7 separate regions of the Homo sapiens genome follow, and regions 2, 3, 4, 5, 6 and 7 are each linked to region 1. The links are contacts of gene promoters, found by promoter capture Hi-C in blood cells and fetal thymus (Javierre and others, 2016). All regions are on one chromosome and are shown on one strand. The core of a region is centred on a gene start or on the middle of the fragment in contact, and the rest is flanking DNA. Distances in the headings are between cores, read along the strand shown. Region 1 holds the start of SPAG16 (sperm associated antigen 16). Region 2 overlaps PECR (peroxisomal trans-2-enoyl-CoA reductase). Region 3 has its middle 16 kb from the start of MREG. Region 4 overlaps MREG (melanoregulin). Region 5 overlaps MREG (melanoregulin). Region 6 overlaps MREG (melanoregulin). Region 7 has its middle 85 kb from the start of MREG.

The links. Contacts are between HindIII fragments. The CHiCAGO score rates a contact against its expected background, and 5 or more counts as called.
Region 2: a contact is called between a fragment that was not itself captured here and the fragment with the promoter of SPAG16 in region 1, in 5 of 17 cell types (naive CD8 T cells, total CD4 T cells, total CD8 T cells and 2 more). The highest score is 12.7, in naive CD8 T cells.
Region 3: a fragment that was not itself captured here is called in contact with the fragment with the promoter of SPAG16 in region 1 in 8 of 17 cell types (non-activated CD4 T cells, total CD4 T cells, naive CD4 T cells and 5 more); the score reaches 15.6 in non-activated CD4 T cells.
Region 4: a fragment that was not itself captured here is called in contact with the fragment with the promoter of SPAG16 in region 1 in 1 of 17 cell types (total CD4 T cells); the score reaches 7.3 in total CD4 T cells.
Region 5: a contact is called between a fragment that was not itself captured here and the fragment with the promoter of SPAG16 in region 1, in 7 of 17 cell types (non-activated CD4 T cells, total CD4 T cells, naive CD8 T cells and 4 more). The highest score is 9.5, in non-activated CD4 T cells.
Region 6: a contact is called between a fragment that was not itself captured here and the fragment with the promoter of SPAG16 in region 1, in 8 of 17 cell types (naive CD8 T cells, total CD8 T cells, total CD4 T cells and 5 more). The highest score is 22.9, in naive CD8 T cells.
Region 7: a fragment that was not itself captured here is called in contact with the fragment with the promoter of SPAG16 in region 1 in 8 of 17 cell types (naive CD8 T cells, total CD4 T cells, activated CD4 T cells and 5 more); the score reaches 17.1 in naive CD8 T cells.

What each region holds. Positions count from the first base shown.
Region 1 is chr2:213,282,618-213,285,936 of GRCh38, reverse strand. It overlaps SPAG16 (sperm associated antigen 16), which reads right to left and starts at 1,473. Exons shown (of 16, transcript NM_024532.5): 1 at 1,318-1,473. The coding sequence starts at 1,453. SPAG16-DT (SPAG16 divergent transcript) reads left to right here and starts at 1,728. Exons shown (of 3, transcript NR_161186.1): 1 at 1,728-1,904. RefSeq lists enhancers at 1,071-1,150, 1,221-1,270, 1,311-1,440. The HindIII fragment of the contact is 3,357 bases long and covers 54-3,319 here.
Region 2 is chr2:216,072,967-216,076,285 of GRCh38, reverse strand. All of the region lies in intron 1 of PECR (peroxisomal trans-2-enoyl-CoA reductase), which reads left to right. Among named protein-coding and RNA genes, the nearest start is that of PECR, 7.2 kb to the left of the region's middle. The HindIII fragment of the contact is 2,894 bases long and covers 201-3,094 here.
Region 3 is chr2:216,027,460-216,030,778 of GRCh38, reverse strand. It overlaps a transcript of MREG not described here and a transcript of PECR not described here. Among named protein-coding and RNA genes, the nearest start is that of MREG, 16 kb to the right of the region's middle. The HindIII fragment of the contact is 7,587 bases long and covers 1-3,319 here.
Region 4 is chr2:216,006,853-216,010,171 of GRCh38, reverse strand. All of the region lies in intron 1 of MREG (melanoregulin), which reads left to right. Among named protein-coding and RNA genes, the nearest start is that of MREG, 5.0 kb to the left of the region's middle. The HindIII fragment of the contact is 1,417 bases long and covers 918-2,334 here.
Region 5 is chr2:215,974,700-215,978,018 of GRCh38, reverse strand. All of the region lies in intron 2 of MREG (melanoregulin), which reads left to right. Among named protein-coding and RNA genes, the nearest start is that of MREG, 37 kb to the left of the region's middle. The HindIII fragment of the contact is 1,136 bases long and covers 1,240-2,375 here.
Region 6 is chr2:215,944,014-215,947,332 of GRCh38, reverse strand. MREG (melanoregulin) reads left to right here. Exons shown (of 5, transcript NM_018000.3): 3 at 220-310; 4 at 1,599-1,762; 5 at 2,336-3,319. The coding sequence ends at 2,470. Among named protein-coding and RNA genes, the nearest start is that of MREG, 68 kb to the left of the region's middle. The HindIII fragment of the contact is 1,633 bases long and covers 747-2,379 here.
Region 7 is chr2:215,927,253-215,930,571 of GRCh38, reverse strand. No RefSeq gene overlaps it. Among named protein-coding and RNA genes, the nearest start is that of MREG, 85 kb to the left of the region's middle. RefSeq lists an enhancer at 2,435-2,961. The HindIII fragment of the contact is 6,678 bases long and covers 1-3,319 here.

The DNA.
Region 1 (3,319 bases), core at 224-2,723:
TACAAGATGCCTGGTTACCATTCAGTAGCAAGGGCACTGGATATAGATAAGCTTAGGAAGAATTATGAAAATCGTTGTTAAAGAGGAATATCACTGGAAAAGACTGCCTGTTACATCTACGAAAACAGTATAAAACCTCATTTATGACACTAAAGCACCCATATATTTCTTTCAAATTCATTTCAAGCGATTCAAATTTCTATTCCTGTAAAAGTCGTTTTTGCACCCAATAAAATACTACATATTTTCTTTAATCTTTCAGCTAAATTCTTCAAAGCTCTCTGTAGTGTGGATGTGTACTGAGCCTGAGTCAGGACAGGTTAATCGGCTTGTCAAAGCTCACGAAATGAATCATTGCTGGATTTCTGAAATCTTGAATTAAACCTGGAGAGGATTACAGTTGGACAAACAAATAAGATTTGGCAGATTTTGGAGTTTCCTTGGTATCTTTAAGAACTGAACAGATAATCATCTCTTTCTTACCTCCCTGAATAAAGGAGTTACATGTCTTTTTCTCATGAACCCTCCCCGTCTCCCTAGTAGGAATTAATCTATATAACTAGAGGAAAGAAGTTCTAAAGCCTTACACAAGAAATAGTGGACCTAATTATCCACACATTGTTATTCAATTTTTCTGGTACTTCCGATAAAAATCGCTAATCACCATCTGCTTTATTCCTAATATCTCTGAGCTGTGTAGCTCACCAGATCATTATTTATTTGCTCAAGAAAAAAAAGCAACTATACTATTAGTATTTATTATTAAGTAGTCAAACTTGGAACTACTCAGGAAGATAATGCTATCAAAACTAAGCATTTAAGCATTAACTGGACCATCGAACAGGATCGTGGGTTGGGTATTCTGAGCTTCAGCTCCTTAAAGTCCAATGGCAGAGGTCTTTCCCTAGTCTCCTAACGTTCCTCCGTTGAATTTATTGGGACGGCTTTCTGAAAGATTGAGGGCTTATTTAGGAAACCCATTATTTGAAAGGAGGGTTGAAGCAATTTGTTGTGCTGTCTTAACATAAAAAGCAACCCTCCATCCAAAATGTACTGAGTGGTTACTAAGTATGAGGCCTTGGAAGGTCTCCCAACTCTTCTAACAGGTACAGGACACCCTGGGCTACTAAGGGCGAGAAATTCAGTGAGTGGCTCTCAGGAAGACTGTGGTGGCAAAAACAGCACCTTGAAGTCCAACAGAGGCTCCTCCGGAGTGGCCCCAAGGCTCAAAAGGCGCCGCCAGTGGGAGGCCCTCGCCTTCGTCCCAACACCCATTACCCGCCAGCGCAGCGGGCCGCGCCTCCACGGGAAGGATACGTTCCAGGTAGTAGGCGCCCTCAGCCGCCACCGCGTCCGCCGTGTCCCTCGCGTCCCCGGCTGCCGTCAAACCCATGCCCAACGCCTCTTCCAGGACCCTCACGGCGGAGCTGGGCATCCCTCGCTGAGCAGCCATCTCTGGCGCTTCGGGCCCCCACCCCCAGCAGGCCCACAGCCGTCCCTAAGGGCAACAGCGAAGACGCTACCCAACGGCCCCCGGGAGCTCTCGCGAGATTCCGGCATCTCTCACCCCGCCCCACGGACCAGCCCCGGGCACGTAAGGGTTACCGGGAGTCCAGGGAGCTGTCGCCCTCCCGCGCCTCCCAGTTACCGTGGCAACGATGTTGCCTAGTTAACGCGAGAGCTCGGGCGCAGCTCTGGGAGCGGACAAGATACAGTAAACAATTGGCTTGCATTGCACCTTCCTACCCAAGCAGCTTGGTTTTCTTTCGCTTTGACCCTGTAATTTCTTTCCCACTTCGTTGTCGTCTCTGAATTACCTTTCTCTTGATTCTTGCCCATTAGCATCCTCCAATTTCAGATGTTTGTAGATCCCCAAGTGTTCCCAGGGAAAACTACTAGAAAAGGTGAGTTCTCAACACCTGGAATTTTTTAAAAAATGAAAAAATAAAGTTCTAGAAATCATAATAGAAAGACTGACCCAGGGGAGCTACCAGACGCTCCTCAGATGCTTAGCAATGAAGAACTATGGTGTTCAGCTTTGTCAATTCCTTTCTTGTGATCTTTAATGCATTTAGCTGGACATCTGTTTTGAGTTTGGTTCCATATACTAAGACTTGGAATAGTATTTGTAGCATTGATTCTCGCCAAGGTAAAAACAGTTGCATAAAAATTATGAGCTACAAATTTGGTCCTGACAAATGTATGCAGTTGACACTTGCCCCATCATGTATAGTCTTATTGCTGAGAGGATCTTCCTCAGGTTATATCGCGTATGTATCAGAAGCAAATTCAAGGCCCTTTTCTTTGCAAATATTTTTTTTTCCCTTAACTTTTATTTTAGGTTCAGGGGTACAAGTGCAGGTAAGCTCATGTCGCAGGGGTTTGGTATATAACTTATTTCGTCACCCAGGTACTAAGTGTAGTACCCAATAGTTATTTTTTCTGATCTTCTCCCTCCTCCCACTCTCCTCCTCAAGTAGGCCCCAGTGTCTGTTGTTCCTTCTTTGTGTCCATTTGTTCTCATTATTTAGCTCCCACTTACAACTAAGAACATGCAGTATTTGGTTTTCTGTTCCTGCATTAGTTTGCTAAGGATAATGGCCTCCAGCTGCATTCATGTCCCTGAGAGGACATGATCTCATTCTTCTGTGGCTGCATAGTATTCCATGGTATATGTGTACCACATTTTCTTTATCCAGTCCGTTGATGGGCATTTAGGTTGAATCCATGTCTTTATCATGAATATCAATGAACACGCATGTACATGTGTTTTTATGGTAGAACAATTTCTGTTTCTTTGGGTATATACCCAGTAATGGGATTGCTAGGGCAAATGGTATTATTTTTCATTCTACATTTCTTGGTGAAAACTGGAAGCCAGTGATCCTATAAAAGCTCCCATTTATTACCAAAAGGTAGCAGTAACTTCCTAAGGAGGTGTTTGAGAGTACGTGTGTCAGAGCCAGAGAGACAGCTTTCAGAGCCTGCTTCCATCACTTACTAGCTATGACACATTGGGCAAACTACTACTTAATGCCTCTAGGCCCCAGTTTCATCATTTGTAGAACAAAGACAACAATATTACCTACCTCAAAGTGCTGTTGCAAGGGGTAAAGCAACAAAAAGCATTAAGAACTTACTGGGAACATAGAAGACACTAAGAAATGTTAGCTGTTATTTCTATTAAATGTGTTTGATATTGTTTTATTTTTTAGAATAATCAAGGGTCACAGATATAATAGTCGGGTAATTCATTCCTGGTACCTATTCTTTTACTACCCTACTCTTTGTCCTTGACTTCTCACATCAGACATTTCCT
Region 2 (3,319 bases), core at 398-2,897, 2.8 Mb before region 1:
TGAAGGCGGAGGTTGCAGTGAGCCGAGATCACGCCACTGCAATCTGGCCTGGGTGACAGAGTGAGATTCCATCTCAAAAGAAAAGAGAAGAAAAAAATTGGCTAACATTTTCTTTTTTGCTCAATTTGGGTTTATATAACAATGTCTTTCACTTCCACAGGATTTTGACTTTTCCTTTTTCTGAGAGGACACAGAAAGCTTTAGCTCACAAAAGCAGGATATTGTAGGCAGAATTAGATCTCCTTTATACCTTTGACAGGTGCTGTTAGGCAGAGAGAAACCTGATTTCATCAAGGAAAACCTAGCATCGTCAAGTTGAATTCATATCAGATGTTTTTTTATCTTCAAGTTAATCATTCACTTTCTGTTACTACAGTAGAACATAAATTAGGTATAGTAGATAAAATGCAATTAGGAAATGCCGGTGGAAATTATGACCCAAGACAACATTTTTTCTTGCTCTAGTCTAGTCTAACTAGCCTGTTACCAACACCAGGGACCAAGAAGGTGCTGAATAAATGTAGTATTCTGAGTTGAAGATGGAAAGGGATCAGTATCAGCCTAAGCAGGAACGCAGCATACTGGGGCTACAAGCCTCTGATGTTGAAAGAACTCCTTATCCACAAGCTACTTCTATACCTATTCTAAGCAGGTCAGTTGAGCTTTCTGCATCTCTCTAGCTACATATAAACAAAAATAAAGTCTATTGAAATGATTTAGCATGAAAGGCAAGGATTATATATAATATTTTTCTAGTTTATTATAAGGTAGCATAAGAGGTTTGCAATAAATTAAAACAGTATAGAAGTGTATAAAAGAAAAAAATGAGCTTTACCCATTCTGCCCTTTTTCTAAATTCCCTTCCTGGTGATTTTCTACAAATTTAATGTGCACATGTATACACACGTATATATATTTTGTTTTCTACAAAATTGGGATCACAGTATTCTTACTGCTCTGTAATGGTTTTTTTTCCTACTTAAATATCTTGTTTTTTCTTTGTTTTGTTTTGTTTTTTAGAGACAGGATCTTGCTCTGTCACCCAGGCTAGAGTACAGTAGTGTCATCATAGCTCACTGCAGCCTCGAACTCCTGTCTGAAATGATTCTCCTGCCTCAACCTCCCAAGTATCTAAACTATAGGCATGTGCCACAATGTTTGGCAATAAAAAAATTTTTTTAGAGACAAGGTCTCATCCAGGATGGTCTTGAACTCACCACAAGCGACTCTCCAACCTTAGCCTCCCAAATTGCTGGGATTACAAGCATGAGTCACCATGCCTGGCCCATATCTTGTGTTTTTCAATGGTAGTATTGTAGTCATATCTCATTCATTTTAAAGCTGCATAGTATTCCATTGTGTGGGTCTGTAATAACTTATTTAACCATTTCCTGAATGGCCATTTAGGTTTTTATTTTACCCAGCATTGCATTGTTTTTCCCTGTAATATGTTTGCACCCTAGTTCAAGTTTGTCTATAGTGGAAAGTTCTAGCAGTGAAAGTAAATGGACTTGTAAAGTTGTATTTCAGTGCATCTTTACTTGTAGTAGACAACTGTCCTGAAGTCTTGAGGTTTCAGATAGTAACTAGTTATAATTTAGTAAACTTCTATTTAGATAATCCATGTGAATCATCCTATTTATATTCTCAACATATTTTTTACTCGAGGTCTTGGACAAAGTTAGGCATTAATCACCTTGGTGTTCTTGTTTTCTCTCTCTCTCTCTTCCTTCCTTCCTTCCTTTCTTCCTTCCTTCCTTCCTTCCTTCCTTCCTTCCTTCCTTCCTTCCTTTTTTTCTTTCTTTCTCTCTCTCTTTCTTTCTTTTCTTTCTTTTCTTTCTTTTTCTTTCTTTCTTGACACAGTCTCACTCTGTCACCCAGGCACAATCTTGCCTCACTGCAACCTCTGCCCCCAGGTTCAAGCAATTCTCGTGGCTTAGTCTCCTGAGTAGCTGGGATTACAGGCGTGTGCCTCCATGCTCAGCTAATTTTTTTGTATTTTTAGTAGAGGTGGGGTTTCACCATGATGCCCAGGCTGGTCTTGAAGTCCTGAATACAAGCGATCCACCGGCCTTGGCCTCCCAAAGTGTTGGGATTACAGGCATGAGCCACTGCACCCAGCCTAGGTAAAGTTTTTCATCCCTGCCCTATAGAGCCTATGCCCTACTCTGGGAACTAGAGCAAAAAATGTGTATGTTGAAGGCAGAAATATCAAAGAAAGAAGTGGGTGGAGGAAGTGGTGGCTTGTCCTGGGGTGCTTATTTCTCTCCTTTCCATCTCACTGATAAGCTCAGCTATTTCTCCTAAGTGACAGAAACCTAACTGAGTGTTGGATTAGTCTAGAAGTATATACAGTCATGTGTCACTTAACACAGGGAAATCTTCTGAGAAATACATCCTTAAGTGATTTCATCATAGTGTGAACATCATAGAGTGGTAGGCAAACCTAGATGGTATAGCCTACTATATACATGGTTTATATGGTCAATAGCCTATTGCTTCTAGGCTCCAAACCTGTACGGGAGGTTACTATGCTGAAGGCTGCAGGAAATAGTAACACAAAGGTAAATATCTGTGGTCTAAACATATCTAAACATACAAAAGATATAATAAAAATATGGTATTTTTATTATAAAATTATATAAAAACATACAAAAGATATAATAAAAATAAAAGATATAGTAAAAATATGGTATAAAATATAAAAAATGGTACACCTGTATAGAGCACTGTATAGGACACAGGAGCTTACGGGACTGGAAGTTGCTCTGGGTGAGTTAGTGAGGGAGTGATAAGTGAATGTGAAGGCCTAAGACATTATTGTTTACTATTGTAGAATTTATAAACACTGTACACACAGGCTAAACTAAATTTATAAAAAAATAAAGTAATTGCAGCTATGACATTACAGTGGCTACAGCACCACTGGATGATAAGAATGTTTAACTTCCACTTTAATCTTATGAGGCCACTGCCATACATGTGGTCTATCATTGACCAAAACATTGTTATGGGGTGTGTGACTGTGTTTCAGTTATTTTTCCTGCTGGAAGAAGAGGGCCCTCCTGGAAACAAAAGGAGAAAGGAGTAAGCTTCTCCTAACAGTATAACGTATGTTTTTGTTGCACATTATATATTTTGATAAATTAAATTCCATTTTAAAGTTAGGCAAGGCTTACAAGGAACTTATGGTGAATCTTTCCAATTTTTGCTTTATAAAACCCTCAGATTGCACACGAGAATTTCCAAAAGTTGTTACCATTTTTAGTTTACTAAATTATAACCTAAACTTTAAACATAGTTTTTAAAATTGTCTTAT
Region 3 (3,319 bases), core at 401-2,900, 2.7 Mb before region 1:
CCAGCCTGGCCAACATGGTGAAACCTTCTCTCTACTAAAAAAAAAAAAAGAAAGAAAGAAATACAAAAATTAGCCAGTTGTGGTGGTGCATGCTAATAATCCCAGCTACTTAGCAGGCTGAGGCACAAGAATCGCTTGAACCTGGGGGCGGAGGTTGCAGTGAGCTGAGATTGTGCCACTACACTCCAGCTTGGGTGACAGGGCGAGACCCCGTCTCAAAAAAAAAAATTGCAAAATATTTTGGGTAACAATAGCTAGCATTTATTAGGTGATTACTATATGCCTGACACTGCTAAGCCCTTTCCATGCATTATCTCATTTTAGCCTTACAAAAACTCTGTGAGGTAGTTTCATTATTACCAGCATTTTACAGTTGAGGAAACTGGCATGAACAGGTCAAGAAACTTGTTCAAGATCTCAGCACATGGCAGAAGTGGCATTGGAACCAAAGGAGTTTGGCTTCAGAGCCCCGACCCCTGCCCTGTACTGAGAGAGACAGACCAGCACCAAGGACAATGAAGAGATTATTTTGAAAATTTTTAATGGAATTTCTCAAACACAGGCTAAAGAGAATAGTGTAATAGTACCCATCACCCCCAATAATCTATATTTTTACAAATTTGTCTATCTGTCCCCCTTGATTTATAAGTATTTTAGAACAAATTTGAAACCTAAATCTTCTTTATAACCTTTTAACCTGTCATTTCAGAGCAAGCAGTAATTTTAAGGTGGTTGAAAATATGAATGTGAACACAAAGATGGGGCTCACAGTGGGAGACTGGTCCACCATGATAGCATATGAGAAGCCCATGTGACCACCATGAGCATGTGCACCGACCACAGGCCATAAGAGATACGACTCAGCCATAGGCTACAAACATTTGGTTTGCTTGGCATGCACATTCCTCTCTTGTAAAATGATGCATGAGACTCTCAGAGCTAAATTCATTAAACCATCTCCTTTTCCTCTGAATCCCTGTCAAAAACAAATCTAAAACTTTGATTTGCTGTGCAACTTTGCCTGAAGGGAAATACTGGACTATTCTGGCCCTAGGCATTTTCAGCCATGCTGGGAGTTTTGTGTTAGTCTAGGCTGTGTATTTCAGCTTCTGGCGAGTTTGTGAGCATGACTTAGCATCCTTGTATTTTGAGAACTCTGGAAAGAGGGATAACAAGTTTGTGTTTCTAGTTCTTCAAGCCCAAGGGCCAGCCTGGAGGCAGGGGGAGGTGCATAAGCACCTTCTGCCTTGTGTTTATCATTTTGCCTTTGTCGTCCTAACTCAGCAGCCTCAATCCTTCTTTTGAGATGGAGTCTCACTCTCTCGCCAGGCGGAGTGCAGTGGCGTGATCTCAGCTCACTGCAACCTCTACCTCCCAGGTTCAAGCAATTCGCCTGCCTCAGCCTCCTGAGTAGCTGGGACTACAGAAGCGCGCCACCACGCCCAGCTAATTTTTGTATTTTTAATAGAGACAGGGTTTCACCATGTTGGCGACGATGGTCTCAATCTCTTGACCTCGTGATCTGCCTGCCTCAGCCTCCCAAAGTGCTGGGATTACAGGCGTGAGCCACCACGCCTGGCCAGCCTCAATCCTTCTTTACATCTGCTGCCATCAAGCTGCTTTCATCCTTTTATTTTACAGGAAATTATTTATTTCCTTTTAAATAAATAAATAAAGATGAATATAACATCTTTTTTATTGTACTGGTATTTATTTTGGAATTGCTACTTGTAAGTGCTCTGGTCAGAAATTTGTGTATCTTGAGTGGTCTGCACTTAACTCCATATTCCAATGGGGGGAAAACCAAAACTGTGTCTCTCTTTTTCTCTCTCAGAGAAAAAGCCTTATTTTTTTCTTCCTTTTTATGTTCTTTTTCTTTATTGTGGTGTAACTAATATATATAACATAAATTTTGCCATTTTAATGATTTTAAGTGTGCAATTCCTACTGTTGTTATAGACAATTACAGAATTGTCTGTAATTGGTAGAATTCAAATTTCTCAAACAGCAAGATAAATTCAAATATGCATTACCTTAACACTATACAAATTCGAATTCCCAAAATCCAAGTATGTTTGAGAAAATATCTAGAGTACAGTGAGAAAAAATGGAATTAAATAAATACACAATTACTGGAAATCTATGTCAGCTATCACACATTAAAATCCTGCCTAGAAATATCAAATGGAATTTTTTCCATTGATCTGTATATATTTTCAGATTATCTGGGTTTTTTTTTTTTTTTTTTTTTGAGATGGAGTCTTGCTGTGTTGCCCAGGCTGGAGTGCAGTGGCGCGATCTCGGCTCACTGCAAGCTCCGCCTCCCGGGTTCATGACATTCTCCTGCCTCCGCCTCCCGAGTAGCTGGGACTACAGGTGCCCGCCACCACGCCCAGCTAATTTTTTGTATTTTTAGTAGTGACGGGCTTTCACCGTGTTAGCCAGGATCTCCTGACCTCGTGATCTCGATCTCCTGACCTCGTGATCCATCTGCCTCAGCCTCCCAAAGTGCTGGGATTACAGGCGTGAGCCACCGTGCCCGGCCTATCTGGGTATTTTGAGCAAGTTCGTGAAAGACATCTCTTTCAATGGTTTGCAACCATACCACACTATACATGTCATTTATTTCCACTTAAAGCCTATGTTTTACATTATATTTACATGAAGCATTATTTGGTTTTAGTGTAGAAGTCCAAACTCTTGTATGGAAGTCAAAATGCCCTGCCTCAAATTCTAAAATTTTCCTTGTGAAGTAACTGTATTTACATAGAAAAATCAGAAAACTATAATGTTGAGAATTAAACATTAAAATTTCAAGTTTTATTAAATAATTGACTTTAAGTGTATTTTGAAATTTAGTGTCTTTGAAAATTTATTCGACATTTTCAGATTTAGAATGCTTTCAGAAAAACAATGCAACTTGTGAATGACTTTTTATCACAGAGGGTGGGGGAAGGGAGAGTTGGCTTGACTCTTGTTCAGAATGGACATTTTTGATATTAGGCAAATTTTAAACTGACACTTTCTGTTTCTTTCCTTCTTTCAAGGTCCTAGTGTCTTAACTACCTCATGCCTTTTTCTTTTTTGAGACAGATTCTTGTTCTGTCACCGAGGCTGGAATGCAGTGGTGTGATCTTGGCTCACTGCAACCTCTGCTTCCTAGGTTCAAGTGACTCTCATGCCTCAACCTCCCAAGTAGCTGGGATTACAGGCATGTGCCACCATGCCCAGCTAATTTTTGTATTTTTAGTAGAGATGGGGGTTTCACCATGTTGGCCAGGCTGGTCTCGAACTCCTGGCCTCGAATGATCTTCCCACC
Region 4 (3,319 bases), core at 377-2,876, 2.7 Mb before region 1:
TGTGTCTCTCCTCTGTGTCTCAAATCTCCCTTTCTTTTCTCTTATGAGGACACCAGTGATTGGATTTAGGGTCTGTCCTAAAACCTAGGATGATTTCATCTCAAGATCCTTGACTTAATTACATCTGCAAAGACCTTGTTTTCAAATAAGGTCATAATTATAGTGACTGGGGATTAGGACTTGGACATATCTTTTGGGGGGAAACTATTCAGCCCATTACAGAGTACTTTTGAAAGATGTGTGAGCCCAAAGCATTGGTAATTATTTCACTTTTGCAGCATGGCTTTCTTCCATCAGTGATAAGAGCATGCTCTTGCCATATAAAAATCTACCTGAGGCCAGGTGCAGTGGGTCACACCTGTAATCCCAGCACTTTGGGAGGCCGAGGCAGGCGAATCACCTGAGGTCAGGAGTTCGAGACCAGGCTGGCCAACATGGTGAACCCTGTCTCTATTAAAAATAAAAAAAATTAGCCGGGTGTGGTGGCGGGCACCTGTAATCCCAACTACTTGGGAGGCTGAGGCAGGAGAATCGCTTGAACATGTGATTCTCCTGAGCATGTTTGTGTTCCTGGAGGCACAGCTGCAGTCACCTTTAAGGAGAAAGACGCTCAGGTCTTTTGGCACCATGGAGCCTACTGCCATGTAGGATCTAATACAGACATCAGAGGCCTGGGAGATGCTGAATCAGAACACAGAGAAGCTGGCTGTGGTGTAAATGTCATGCACCGAAGGATCTTTCACAAGGGTTGCTTTGAACTTTTTCAGTGCTGGGATTACAGGTGTGAGCCACTGCACCCAACCCCCACTTAGCAGCATTTTTTTTTTTGCATTTTTGTACTTTAGCTGGCAATTTCACTGTTTAGAATATCTCCCAAAGTGTAGTGCTGAAGTGCTAACATACATGTTGGATAAGCTTCACTCCAACCTGAGATATAGGGTGTTGGCCATGAGTTCAATGTTGATAGAGCAACAATATATATTAAATAAGGTGTCTTTAGGCAGAAACACATAAAACAAAGTTATGTATTGATTGGTTGACAGGGATCTAATCCTGCCATCGGCTCACAGGAACCTAACTCTGTATTTCCCCTAGGAACAATGGTTCAGTATTCACTAATTCAGTGTTCAAGCGACTTTACAGAACCTAACTACCACAGACAACAAGAATCAGCTGTGCTTCATAGGGCTATGGTGGGGATTTCATTAACAGATATAGCAGAAATGGTTTAGTTTGAGTCACGCCGCTTGGGGCAGAGACTGAGTTGAAGAGGAAAGTGTCTCTGACAAGGAAGTTCATCTTCCCTGCCCTCATGCTCCTGATCCTGTACAGATTGGGCTTAGTGCTTGTGACAGACTAGGCACTGTTGTAAATGCTTTGTATCTGTGGGCCATTCAGGAAAATTCAATTTGTTTTGAATTTGGCCCACACCCGAAGGTCCTGATCAATTCCTTTTTAGAATGGTCCTTTGTGTGGGCACAAAACAGTCATCTAGAGCAAACTGAGATTTTATTTTACTTTCCCTCCCAGGAATTCAGGCACTGTAGAAAAATAAAACAGTGACGTCTGTCCATTCATTGCCTGCAGAGGGCATCAAGTTTGTTATCATGAATGGAAGCTGCAGGTGGGCATCCAGATGAACAAGGAGCAAAACAGATTTGGAAGCTCATTATATGGTCCACTTGGGTGGCTTAAGAGAGAGCCACACATAAAATCATAGCTATTGTTGTTCATTCTTTCCATTTCTTCTTTTGCTGTTGAAAAATCAGACAGATGTAACGATGTTTGATTATCAGTTATTAACAGCTAATAGAAATTAGAGAGTAACAATTGTTACAAATTGAATTTTCCTGAATGGCCCACAGATACAAAGCATTTACAACAGTGCCTAGTCTGTCACAAGCACTAAGCCCAATCTGTACAGGATCAGGAGCATGAGGGCAGGGAAGATGAACTTCCTTGTCAGAGACACTTTCCTCTTCAACTCAGTCTCTGCCCCAAGCGGCGTGACTCAAACTAAACCATTTCTTCTATATCTGTTAATGAAATCCCCACCATAGCCCTATGAAGCACAGCTGATTCTTGTTGTCTGTGGTAGTTAGGTTCTGTAAAGTCGCTTGAACACTGAATTAGTGAATACTGAACCATTGTTCCTAGGGGAAATACAGAGTTAGGTTCCTGTGAGCCGATGGCAGGATTAGATCCCTGTCAACCAATCAATGCATAACTTTTTTTATGTGTTTCTGCCTAAAGACACCTTATTTAATATATATTGTTGCTCTATCAACATTGAACTCATGGCCAACACCCTATATCTCAGGTTGGAGTGAAGCTTATCCAACATGTATGTTAGCACTTCAGCACTACACTTTGGGAGATATTCTAAACAGTGAAATTGCCAGCTAAAAGTACAAAAATGCAAAAAAAAAGCCGCTAAGTGGGGGTTGGGTGCAGTGGCTCACACCTGTAATCCCAGCACTTCGGAAGACCAAGACAGGTGGATCACTTGAGGTCAGCAGTATGAGACCAGCCTGGCCAACGTGGTGAAACCCCATCTCTACTAAAAATACAAAAATTAGCTGGGCGTGGTGGCACATGCCTGTAATCCCAGCTACTCTGGAGGCTGAGACAGGAGAATCACTCGAATCTGGGAGGCGGAGGTTGCAGTGAGCCAAGATTGAGATACTGCACTCCAGCCTGGGTGACAGAGCGAGACTCCATCTCAAAATAAATAAATAAATAAATAAATAAATAAATAAATAAATAAAATGTTGCTAAGTGATCACAAAAAGGACGCTTGTTTCCAATCTGAGAGCTGAACCAAGAAGCCTGAGTGTTGCCTTTTGACCTCGGCTGGGGCTGTGCGTCTCAGGCAACTCTAAATTTTTTGTCACTCTAGGCATGTTCATGAATGTCCTTGGAAACATCACTAGTATTGATTTTGGGGTTACAGGTAAATTTTGACGAGTGGGCGAATTTGCAAATGCAGAATCTCCAAATAATGAAGATTGGCTGTAATTATGTCCACCATCCCCAGTTGGCCATTGAGGAGACTGAGACACAGAGAACTTCAGTAACTTGCTTAGAGGCACACGTGGTCGAACTGGGATTCATATGCTAGTAGATTTCAATGCCATAGAAAGAGCAGAGCCCTTCTGGTGTGCAGAGAGGTATGGAACTAGCTGCTTACGTGGTGTGTGTTAGAAGTTGTGTTTGGAGTTTGAATCTTTCCCTGAATTGTTATAGCCCAGGGTCCAGAAACACTGGGTCTTTTCCTGCATTGAAGCTAGGGAAACCAGGTGCCAGTGGGAAAGAAGGG
Region 5 (3,319 bases), core at 558-3,057, 2.7 Mb before region 1:
TTCTTGCCTTCTGCTAGCTTTTGAATTTGTTTGCTCTTGTTTCTCTAGTTCTTTTAATTGTGATGTTAGGGTATCGATTTTAGATCTTTCCTGCTTTCTTTTGTGGGCATTTAGTGCTATAAATTTCCCTCTACTCACTGCTTTAAATGTGTCCCAGAGATTCTGGAACCTTGTGTCTTTGTCCTCATTGGTTTCAAATAATATATTTATTTCTGCCTTCATTTCATTATTTACCCAGGAGTCATTCAGGAGCAGGTTGTTCAGTTTCCATGTAGTTGTGCAGTTTTGAGTGAGTTTCTTAATCCTGAGTTCTAGTTTGATTACACTGTGGTCTGAGAGACAGTTTGTTATAATTTCTGTTCTTTCACATTTGCTAAGGAGTGCTTTACGTCCAACTATGTGGTCAATTTTGGAATAAGTGCAATGTGGTGCTGAGAAGAATGTATATTCTGTTGATTTGGGGTGGAGAGTTCTGTAGATGTCTATTAGGTCAGCTTGCTGCAAAGCTGAGTTCAAGTCCTAGATATCCTTGTTAATTTTCTGTCTCGTTGATCTGTCTAATATCGACAGTGGGGTGTTAAAATCTCCCATTATTGTTGTGTGGGAGTCTAAGTCTCTTTGTAGGTCTCTAAGGACTTGCTTTATGAATCTGGGTGCTCCTGTATTGGGTGCATATATATTTAGGATAGTTAGTTCTTCTTGTTGAATAGATCCCTTTACCATTATGTAATAGCCTTCTTTGTCTCTTTTGATCTTTGTTGGTTTAAAGTCTGTTTTATCAGAGACTAGGGTTGCAACCCCTGCTTTTTGTTGGTTTCCATTTGCTTTGTAGATCTTCCTCCATCCCTTTATTTTGAGCCTATGTGTGTCTCTGCAAGTGAGATGAGTCTCCTGAATACAGCACCCTGATGGGTCATGACTCTTTATCCAGTTTGCCAGTCTGTGTCTTTTAGTTGGGGCATCTAGCCCATTTACATTTAAGGTTAATATTGTTATATGTGAATTTGGTCCTGTCATTATGATGTTAGCTGGTTATTTTGCCCGTTAGTTGATGCAGTTCCTTCCTAGCATCCTTGGTCTTTACAATTTGGCGTGTTTTTGCAGAGGCTGGTACCAGTCGTTCCTTTCCATGCTTAGTGCTTCCTTCAGGAGCTCTTGTAAGGCAGGCCTGGTGGTGACAAAAGCTCTCAGCCTTTGCTTGTCTGTAAAGGATTTTATTTCACCTTCACTTATGAAGCTTAGTTTGGCTGGATATGAAATTCTGGGTTGAAAATTCTTTTCTTTAAGAATGTTGAATATTGGCCCCCACTCTCTTCTGGCTTGTAGAGTTTCTGCTGAGAGATCCGCTGTTAGTCTGATGGGCTTCCCGACAACTGACACTTATGGAGCACTCCCTGTACTCCAGATGTTGCTCTAAATACGTTACCTATACCACACCAACTACCGTTGTCCTCAAGGTATGATAACTCGGTGCTTTCCTCTCCAGTATAAAGTTATTCATGTCATTTGGCCAGAACCTCCTGTCCTTTGATGGTGGTAGATGGTGATTTCTGAATGTCATCCCCAGATGAGTAGTAGCCTTAAGCACTGGGTACAGGCAGAAATTTGGGAAGGCAGGTAGCAGAATGTGGAATCAAAGCAAATCTAGAATAATGTAATATTGTGTGAATATGGGGCTAAGAGCAAGGGATGTATTTCAAATAAAGGCTCTAGTTGAAGAGGCTGGGCAGATACCCAGACAGAACCAACAGATTTGGAATAGAAGGCAAGATGCATGGGATAGAATGGAAGGTAGAGTTTCAAGAAATTGTAGTCCGAGTGAAACACGCAGATTGTTGCAAGTGGAACTTAATGCACTGCCAAGGCTCAGTGAGGAAATGACATCCTACTGTCCCATTTTTTTTTTTTTTTGAGACGGAGTCCTGCTTTATCACTTGGGCTGGAGGGCAGTGGTGCGATCTTGGCTCACTGCAACCCCTGCCTCCTGGGTTCAAGCGACTCTCCTGCCTCAGCCCAGCTCCCCCATACCACGCCCCCCGCGAGTAGCTGGGATTACAGGTGCACACCACCATGCCCGGCTACTTTTTGTATTTTTAGTAGAGACAGTGTTTCACCGTGTTGGCCAGGCTGGTCTTGAACTCCTGACCTCAGGCAATCTGCCCGCCTCAACCTCCCAAAGTGCTGGGATTACAGGTGTGAGCCACGGCGCCCGGCCCTATGAGACTTCTTGACTGTCTTCCTGTCAAATAATGATATCATCTCTGTTGCCCATTGATAGTTACACTTTCCCAACTGAAGGCTTATTCATTTTCTTGATGCATTATTTAATATATAAAGCTGACTGAAGGTACAGAAACCTATGAGGTTATTAAGCTTTGGAAAATCTCTGCCCGAATGGACTGTGGCAGTGTCTAGTAAAGATTTACATTTTTCTCTTGGCTGAGCCCATGGGATGTGGCTGCCCCCAAATGGTATTCCTTGTGATCAAAACAGCTCCTTGGCTTCTGTGGCAGTCATTTAGGTTGCACTGACTAGCTCTTTTTAAGGTAGAATAGCCTACATATTGCAACTAAATTAAGTCAACTCATCCAGCAGTTTTGCTGTCAATCTAGCCTATGGTCAGTGGGCACCATTCTCACACTGCTAAACAAAGTTATGGTTATGAAAGGCAAAAGTATAGAAATAAAACTACCCAATGAAAGTACTGGTTAAGTACATCTTAAGTAGCTTCACTAATGAATGCTATATACCTTGAAAAATAATGAGATAGGATTTATAGATAGTGACTTAGAAAGACGGTTATGATCTATTGCTAAATGGGTATGTATAATGTTATCCCATTTGTGTAAAAGCATGTATATGCTAATGTACAATGATAAGATTTGTGGACTGTTACCTGCAGTAGAAGTAGGTGGAGGGAAGGAGGCTTTTACTTTCCTTTAACTTTATAGTTTTCTGTACAGTTTGAATACAATTCAGAGGTATTATTTCATATATATATATATATATAATTCATATAAAATAAAATTCTCTCCCTGTTATTTCCTAACACATTTTGTGGTGGCTGTTTCCCTGGATCTTTCTAAACTGTTTTGCTTTGATTTACTGTGGGTGTGCTGGAGAAAGTGGGAGGTGGAGAGAGGGAGAGAGAGAGAGAGAGAGAGAGTGTGTGTGTGTGTGTGTGTGTGTGTGTCTGTGTGTGTGTCTGTGTCTGTGTTTAGGAACTGGAGCAGGCTTTGAGGAATTTCACCAGAGTAGATAAAGCAGAAAGGCGATGAAGCCATTGGTCAGCATTTATCTTTCCAAGGGTCTAAGATTC
Region 6 (3,319 bases), core at 314-2,813, 2.7 Mb before region 1:
AAGGTGCCATATCACCTGGTGCAGAGCAGATTCTCCAGCAGTGGTAGCTGATAGTATTCCTATCAACTTTATCTCATCCATCTCCTTCTCTTCTTTTAGGCTTGCTTTGAAGATTAATAAAAGAGAAGAGCCAGGTGTTTAGGCAACATGAAGTTTGGGAATGAGATAGAGGTTTAAGCCAAGGGGTATAAATAAAACTAAACTTTTATTTTCCTGCAGGAGTGGCAGAAGCTCAACTATGATATCCATACCCTGCGGCAGGTTCGAAGGGAAGTAAGAAACAGATGGAAGTGCATCTTAGAAGATTTAGGTAAGTCTAAAAGAGATTGTGAAATGGTAAAAATAACTCGTTGTGATCATTATTCTTCAATTTCTCCACCATGGTTTTTATAAAAGGAATGTCAATAATTGCCTAATTAAGACTACTGTGTACTAATTATTCTCCCAATCTTGCTCTTATATCCTCAAGCATAAATGCCTGATGTTTCTGTTGTCACCAGTCCATGTCTTCAGGACACACTCTGCCATGTGTTACTCCATCTGTCCCTAGTATAGGGTACGCATGCCAGTGCAGTCATGTGGGCACTAACATTTACTTTTTTGGCATTGTACATTAATTTAATTAGATGGGGTGTTGGCCAATTAGTCATAGCTTTGTAAGATGAAGCAGGTTGGGAGAAATATTGTTTGCAAGACAGACAGCAAAACTCAGTGTAGAATTTCGGAAGAAATATGGAAGAAAAGCTTCGAGGTTGGGAAAAACACTTGTGGCATTAGGGTAGATACCTGCCCTCATCACTAATGGTTAATGATAATGATTTTTCTCAATTCTCCCGGGATTGTGATACAATAAATGTGGCCCCCACATTATATAATCCTGCTTCAATGTTTAAAAAGTGAATTTATCAGTTCTGAAGTCCTTGATCCTTTTGCTTTGAAAGAGAGCATGACATCTTGGCATCATCACTTTTCAAGCGTGGGGGGCCATGTGACCGATCTCTATGGCTTTGGTTGGCATGCAATGGGATGGGATGGGATCTCTGCCCTCTTTGCATATCTAGTATTGTTGTGAGCTAATAGCCTTTTTTTTTTTTTAAACAATGAAAGTTACTCCAAGTAGGTTTAAGTCTTTGAATCCTTTATACTTTTGGGTGAGTGATTTTTACCAGCTAATCATATTACCCTGAGGAAGAAAATCCAGGTTTGGAGAAGGACAGCCTGGAGGGAACCACTTTGCAGGCTGGGAGGCAGGTAGGAATTCTGGGGACAGGGGAGAAGCTAAAGAGTAGGGAGGACAGGAAAGAGGGCTTCAAACCAGAAACAAGGTGGCAAGCAACCAGTGGATGAGTATCTGAGGCTCTGAGGGAAAAGTTAACAAAGAGAAAAAAAATACCGAAAGAATTGTAATTAAATATCCTGCCAATCACATGGATCTGGGAGGCAGCACATGGAATAGTACCTTTGGCTTCAGTTTTCTGATGCTTTATGCTTGTACAGAATCCACATGGGTCTGTTCGTAATCTCCTGCAGGGACCGTATTGCGGAACACTTGTTAACTTGGGACTACTTTACATGAGTGGTCCATTTTTCTACCTTAGGTTTTCAAAAGGAAGCTGACTCTTTGTTGTCAGTGACTAAACTCAGCACCATCAGTGATTCTAAAAACACAAGGAAAGCTCGAGAGATGTTGTTAAAACTGGCTGAAGAAACCAATATTTTCCCAACAAGTTGGGAGCTCTCAGAGAGATATCTCTTTGTTGTGGTAAGTGGATGCTTTTTTTCATTTGCCCTAATTTTGCTTTAATTGCTTGGCTTTTTAAAACTATTCACTATCCTCCGTATTCCAACACCACCATCACTATCACATATGAGGTGGCAGATGCTGGCATTATATGCTGTGGTCCCCAGTGGCCCGCAGCATCAGAATCACCTAAAGAGTTTTAAAAGTTCAGATTTCTGTATCACACGTAGACCTACTGAGGCTTGGGTTCCAGCTCAAGAGTTTGTATTTTTCAGTGAATTCTACTGTGTAGTCTATTTTCTGAACCATTTGTAGGTCAAAGAGATGTGAGAAGTATTGTTTATTTAACCTATAAGACTAAGAAATAATCTGAAAGGAGAAAGGACGCTAAGGAGTGGGGAAATGTTTCTTGGATAATGTAACTAAAGGATTAAGGCGTGTCTCTACATTTGTTAGGAAAAAATTAATAAACGTCTTACTTGCTCATTGTCATTTCCAGGGTGGGTTTTGTTGTTGTTAGATTGCTTTTTCCCATCGACATGTCTTGGTTCCTATCTTGCCAGCAGTTTTTTGGTTTGTTGTTTGTTTTTGCAGGACCGTCTCATTGCACTTGATGCTGCAGAAGAGTTCTTTAAGCTTGCTCGTCGAACTTACCCCAAGAAGCCTGGGGTTCCATGCCTGGCAGATGGCCAGAAAGAACTGCACTACCTTCCGTTTCCAAGTCCCTAAAGGAGAGGCTCAGGGGCAGAATGGGAATTCTTCCATGAGGACTCAGCAGTCAACCAAAGTTGGACAATTACATGTAGAAGAGAGTGAGCAAATAGAGTTTGCTTAGTGAAAAATGATACTGAATTCTACATAAATGTAAAGTCTTTAATCTGAGGACCCTGCCCCATGAATTGTGCAGGCTGCATTGAAACGCCTTGGTGATCTCATATTTAGGAAGAAAGTTAAAGAGTTGGTCAGATGGATAGTTCATAATGGGTGGTTCCATTCTGAGAGCCCATTGCCCCAGCTTTGGTTTTAGTTGTGTCATAATCTCTGATCATTAATCCTACTGACTGAGTGGACTATTTCAGTTAATAAAACAATATGATTAATAGAGAGAGCTGTCATTGAGTCCCAAAATGGATTGCCAGTTTTAAAATAATTATTATAAAATGTATGCTAACCCCAAAATAATACTAGGCATGAGGTGACCTCTCTGATTTGGTCACCTTGTAGAACCTTGGAGGGTGTCAGGGCATCTCTTTGAGTATCAGTTATGATTATTCAGAAGTATAGATGTATCAAATGATAGAAATGACAAGGAATGGCTGGGCGTGGTGGCTCATGCCTGTAATCCCAGCACTTTGGGAGGCCAAGGTGGGTGGATCATGAGGTCAGGAGTTCAAGACCAGCCTGACCAACATGGTGAAACCCTGTCTCTACTAAAAATACAAAAATTAGCCAGGTGTGATGGCACGCGCTTGTAATCCCAGCTACCCAGGAGGCTGAGGTAGGAGAATCGCTTGAGCCCGGGCAGTGGAGGTTACAGTGAGCCGAGATTGCACCATTGCACTCCAGCCTGGGCGACAG
Region 7 (3,319 bases), core at 241-2,740, 2.6 Mb before region 1:
TTTTAGGGTAGCACCAAATCCTGGTCAACTACAAATCCTGGTCGTCTTTGTATCCCTGTGACCTGATCTTTTCATAGTGATCGCGCCACTGCACTCCATCTTGGGCAACAGAGTGAGACCCTGTCTCAAACAAAAACAAAAACAAAAAGCAAATATTTATAGAAGGTGTTTGAATAAAAAGAAAAGATTGGATCCAGTTTCTAGTGGGTAAGGCAGATGAGAACAGAGTAGACAAACAAACAAGGTAACTACAATTTGCAAGCAGTGCTGTAACAGGAACACTGGATGAGATAAGGTGGAACTGAGTGGGGCCCCTCTGCACAGGGTGGTCAGGGGCCTCTTCTCTGAGAGAGGTCTGAGTTGGGACCCTTAAAGGATGAGTCACAGCCAGTCAGTCATGCAAAGATGTGAAGGAAGAGGGGCCCAGGCAGAGGGAACAGCAAGTGCAAAGGGCTGGAGGCGATAAAGGCTTTGGCATAGCTGAGGGCGAAAGGGAGCAGAGCATGTCTGGAGTAGCTTAGGGGGTCATGATGAGCAGAGCGCTGGAGGCACGAGGAAGGGTGGATCTTCAGTTCCTGCCTTGTGCGACCAGAGAAGGGTGTCTGCCTTGGAGAGCCAGGAGCTGACTTATGTTGTGAAACAATAACTTGCCATGCATTGCGAATGGATCAGAGGATGGCAAGAATGGGAACAAGATGTGTCAGAATTGAGAGAGGGTGATGGTTTGGACTAGGTTGGTGGCATTGAGGAGGAGCATAAATGGGTGAAGTGTGAGGTGTATTTTGGAGAGGTAATGGACAGGAGTTGCTGATGCATTTGAATTTGGGGGATGGTGCAGGAAGAGGAGAAATCAAGGATGACTCATAGCTTTCTAGCTGTGGCAGAGTGTGGGGCCATTTGCTGAGTTAAGGATGTCTGGGAGAAGAGGCTAGATCAGAACAGAATCAATTTTGGATCATTTTGATGAAACACCATGAGTTCCTCCCCAGACCCCCAACAATTGGAGAACTTATTTTGTTTCTAAGCACAATATTCTAAGTAGAATATTGTGGGGGTTTTTTTGGTAACAGCTTCATTGAGGTATAATTCACATACTATGCAATTCACCTATTTTAAGTATATAATTCAATGGTTTTCAGCATATCCACAGAGTTGCAATCAATTTTAGAATATTTTCATTACCCTAAAAGAAACTGTACCCTATTGCAGTCACACCTCCTTCATTCTTCACATCTACCCTCCTCATCCTAAACCCTAGGCAGCCACTAACGTAGTTTCTGTTTCTAGATTTATGTGTTGTGGACGTTTGTGTAAGTGGAACCTATGGTTATATGGGACCCTTGTTCCTGACTTCTTTCACTTAGTATAATGTCTTGAAGATTCAACCGTATTGTCGCATGAATCATAATTGTATTCCTTTGTATTGTGGAATAATTTCCTTCATTTTTATGAAATAATATTGCATACAATATTATAACATTTTATGCATCCATTTATCAGTTAATGGGCATTTGGGTTTGTCTTAGTCTGTTTGGCTGCCACAACACTCGCTTCAGCCTGAGTGGCTTAAACAACAGACGTTTATTTCTCACAGTTCTGGAGTCTGGAAGTCTGTGATCAAGCGGCTGGCTGATTCAGTGCTCAGTGAGGGAGCTCTTGCAGGACGCCATCTTTATGCTGGATCCTCCTGTGGCAGAGAGAGATGATCTCTCTCCTGTCTCTTCTTCTAACGGCATCAATTCCATTCGCAAAGGCTCCTCCTTCTCCCTAATTACCTCCCCAAAGCCCCACCTTCAAATATCATCACAATGGAGATTAAGACTTCAACATATGAATTTTGGAGACACTCCGTTCATAGTGAGGTGGTTTCCACTTTTGGGGTATTATGAGTAATGTTGCTAGGAATATTTGTGTGCAGATTTTTGTGTAGATATCCAGGAGTTTTGTTTCAACATGAGAATTTTGCAGTGTTTTTAGGACAGTGTTTGTAGGACAAAACAAGCTGCTGCCCTTGATTCCCTGCTCTCTTCTCACAGCTGACCATCCTGTGACCTTTGCCATTGAGTTTAGGAGACTCCATTCCACTGTAGACAAACCAGCCTGAACCCTCGTGTCTCCACCTCGTGTCTCTTTCTGTTCTGTATCCAGCTGCTACATATTTCGGGATGAAATGCCCTGCAGTTGGTCTGTTGGTCGGCATTTTATGTGGGAGTTGGCTCACATTGTTGATGTGTGAAGAATGGTATTGTTGGCTCACGAGAACGTGGGGTGACTTCCTGGAGGAAGTAGGACAGCCTAACATGTATCACGAGAGAGAAGCTATGAGGGCAAGAGAAGCTGCATCCACGAGGCAGTCCTGGGTGGGACCTCCAGCTCTCCACTTCCTAACTTGGGCAGATTGCTGAAACTTCCTGGCCTTCATCTGTAAAATGGCAATGCCAAGTTTCATGCGCGTCCGTGTGAAGAGACCACCAAACAGGCTTTGTGTGAGCAACATGGCTGTTTATTTCACCTGGGTGCAGGCAGGCTGAGTCCGAAAAGAGAGTCAGCGAAGGGAGATAAGGGTGGGGCCGTTTTATAGGATTTGGGTAGGTAAAGGAAAATTACAGTCAAAGGGGGTTTGTTCTCTGGCAGGCAGGAGTGGGGGTCACAAGGTGCTCAGTGGGGGTTCTTTTTGAGCCAGGATGAGCCAGGAAAAGGACTTTCACAAGGTAATGTCATCAGTTAAGGCAAGGACCGGCCATTTACACTTCTTTTGTGGTGGAATGTCATCAGTTAAGGTGAGGCAGGGCATATTCACTTCTTTTGTGATTCTTCAGTTACTTCAGGCCATCTGGGCGTATATACGTGCAAGTCACAGGGGATGCGATGGCTTGGCTTGGGCTCAGAGGCCTGACATTCCTGCCTTCTTATATTAATAAGAAAAATAAAACAAAATAGTGTTGAAGTGTTGGGGCGGCGAAAATTTTTGGGGGGTGGTATGGAGGGAGAATGGGCGATGTTTCTCAGGGCTGCTTCAAGCGGGATTAGGGGCGGCGTGGGAACCTAGAGTGGGAGAGATTAAGCTGAAGGCAGATCTTGTGGTAAGGGGTGATATTGTGGGGACGTTAGAAGAAACATTTGTTGTATAGAATGATTGGTGATGGCCTGGATATGGTTTTGTATGAATTGAAAAACTAAATGGAATAACAGAAGGAGAAAAACAGGTATAAAAGGTCTAAGAATTGGGACAACTCAGGATATCTGATTAGAGAGTGCTTAAGGAGATTCGGCAGAGTCCTGCCGGCAAAGATTATTTATTTACTTCAAGAGTTAAGAG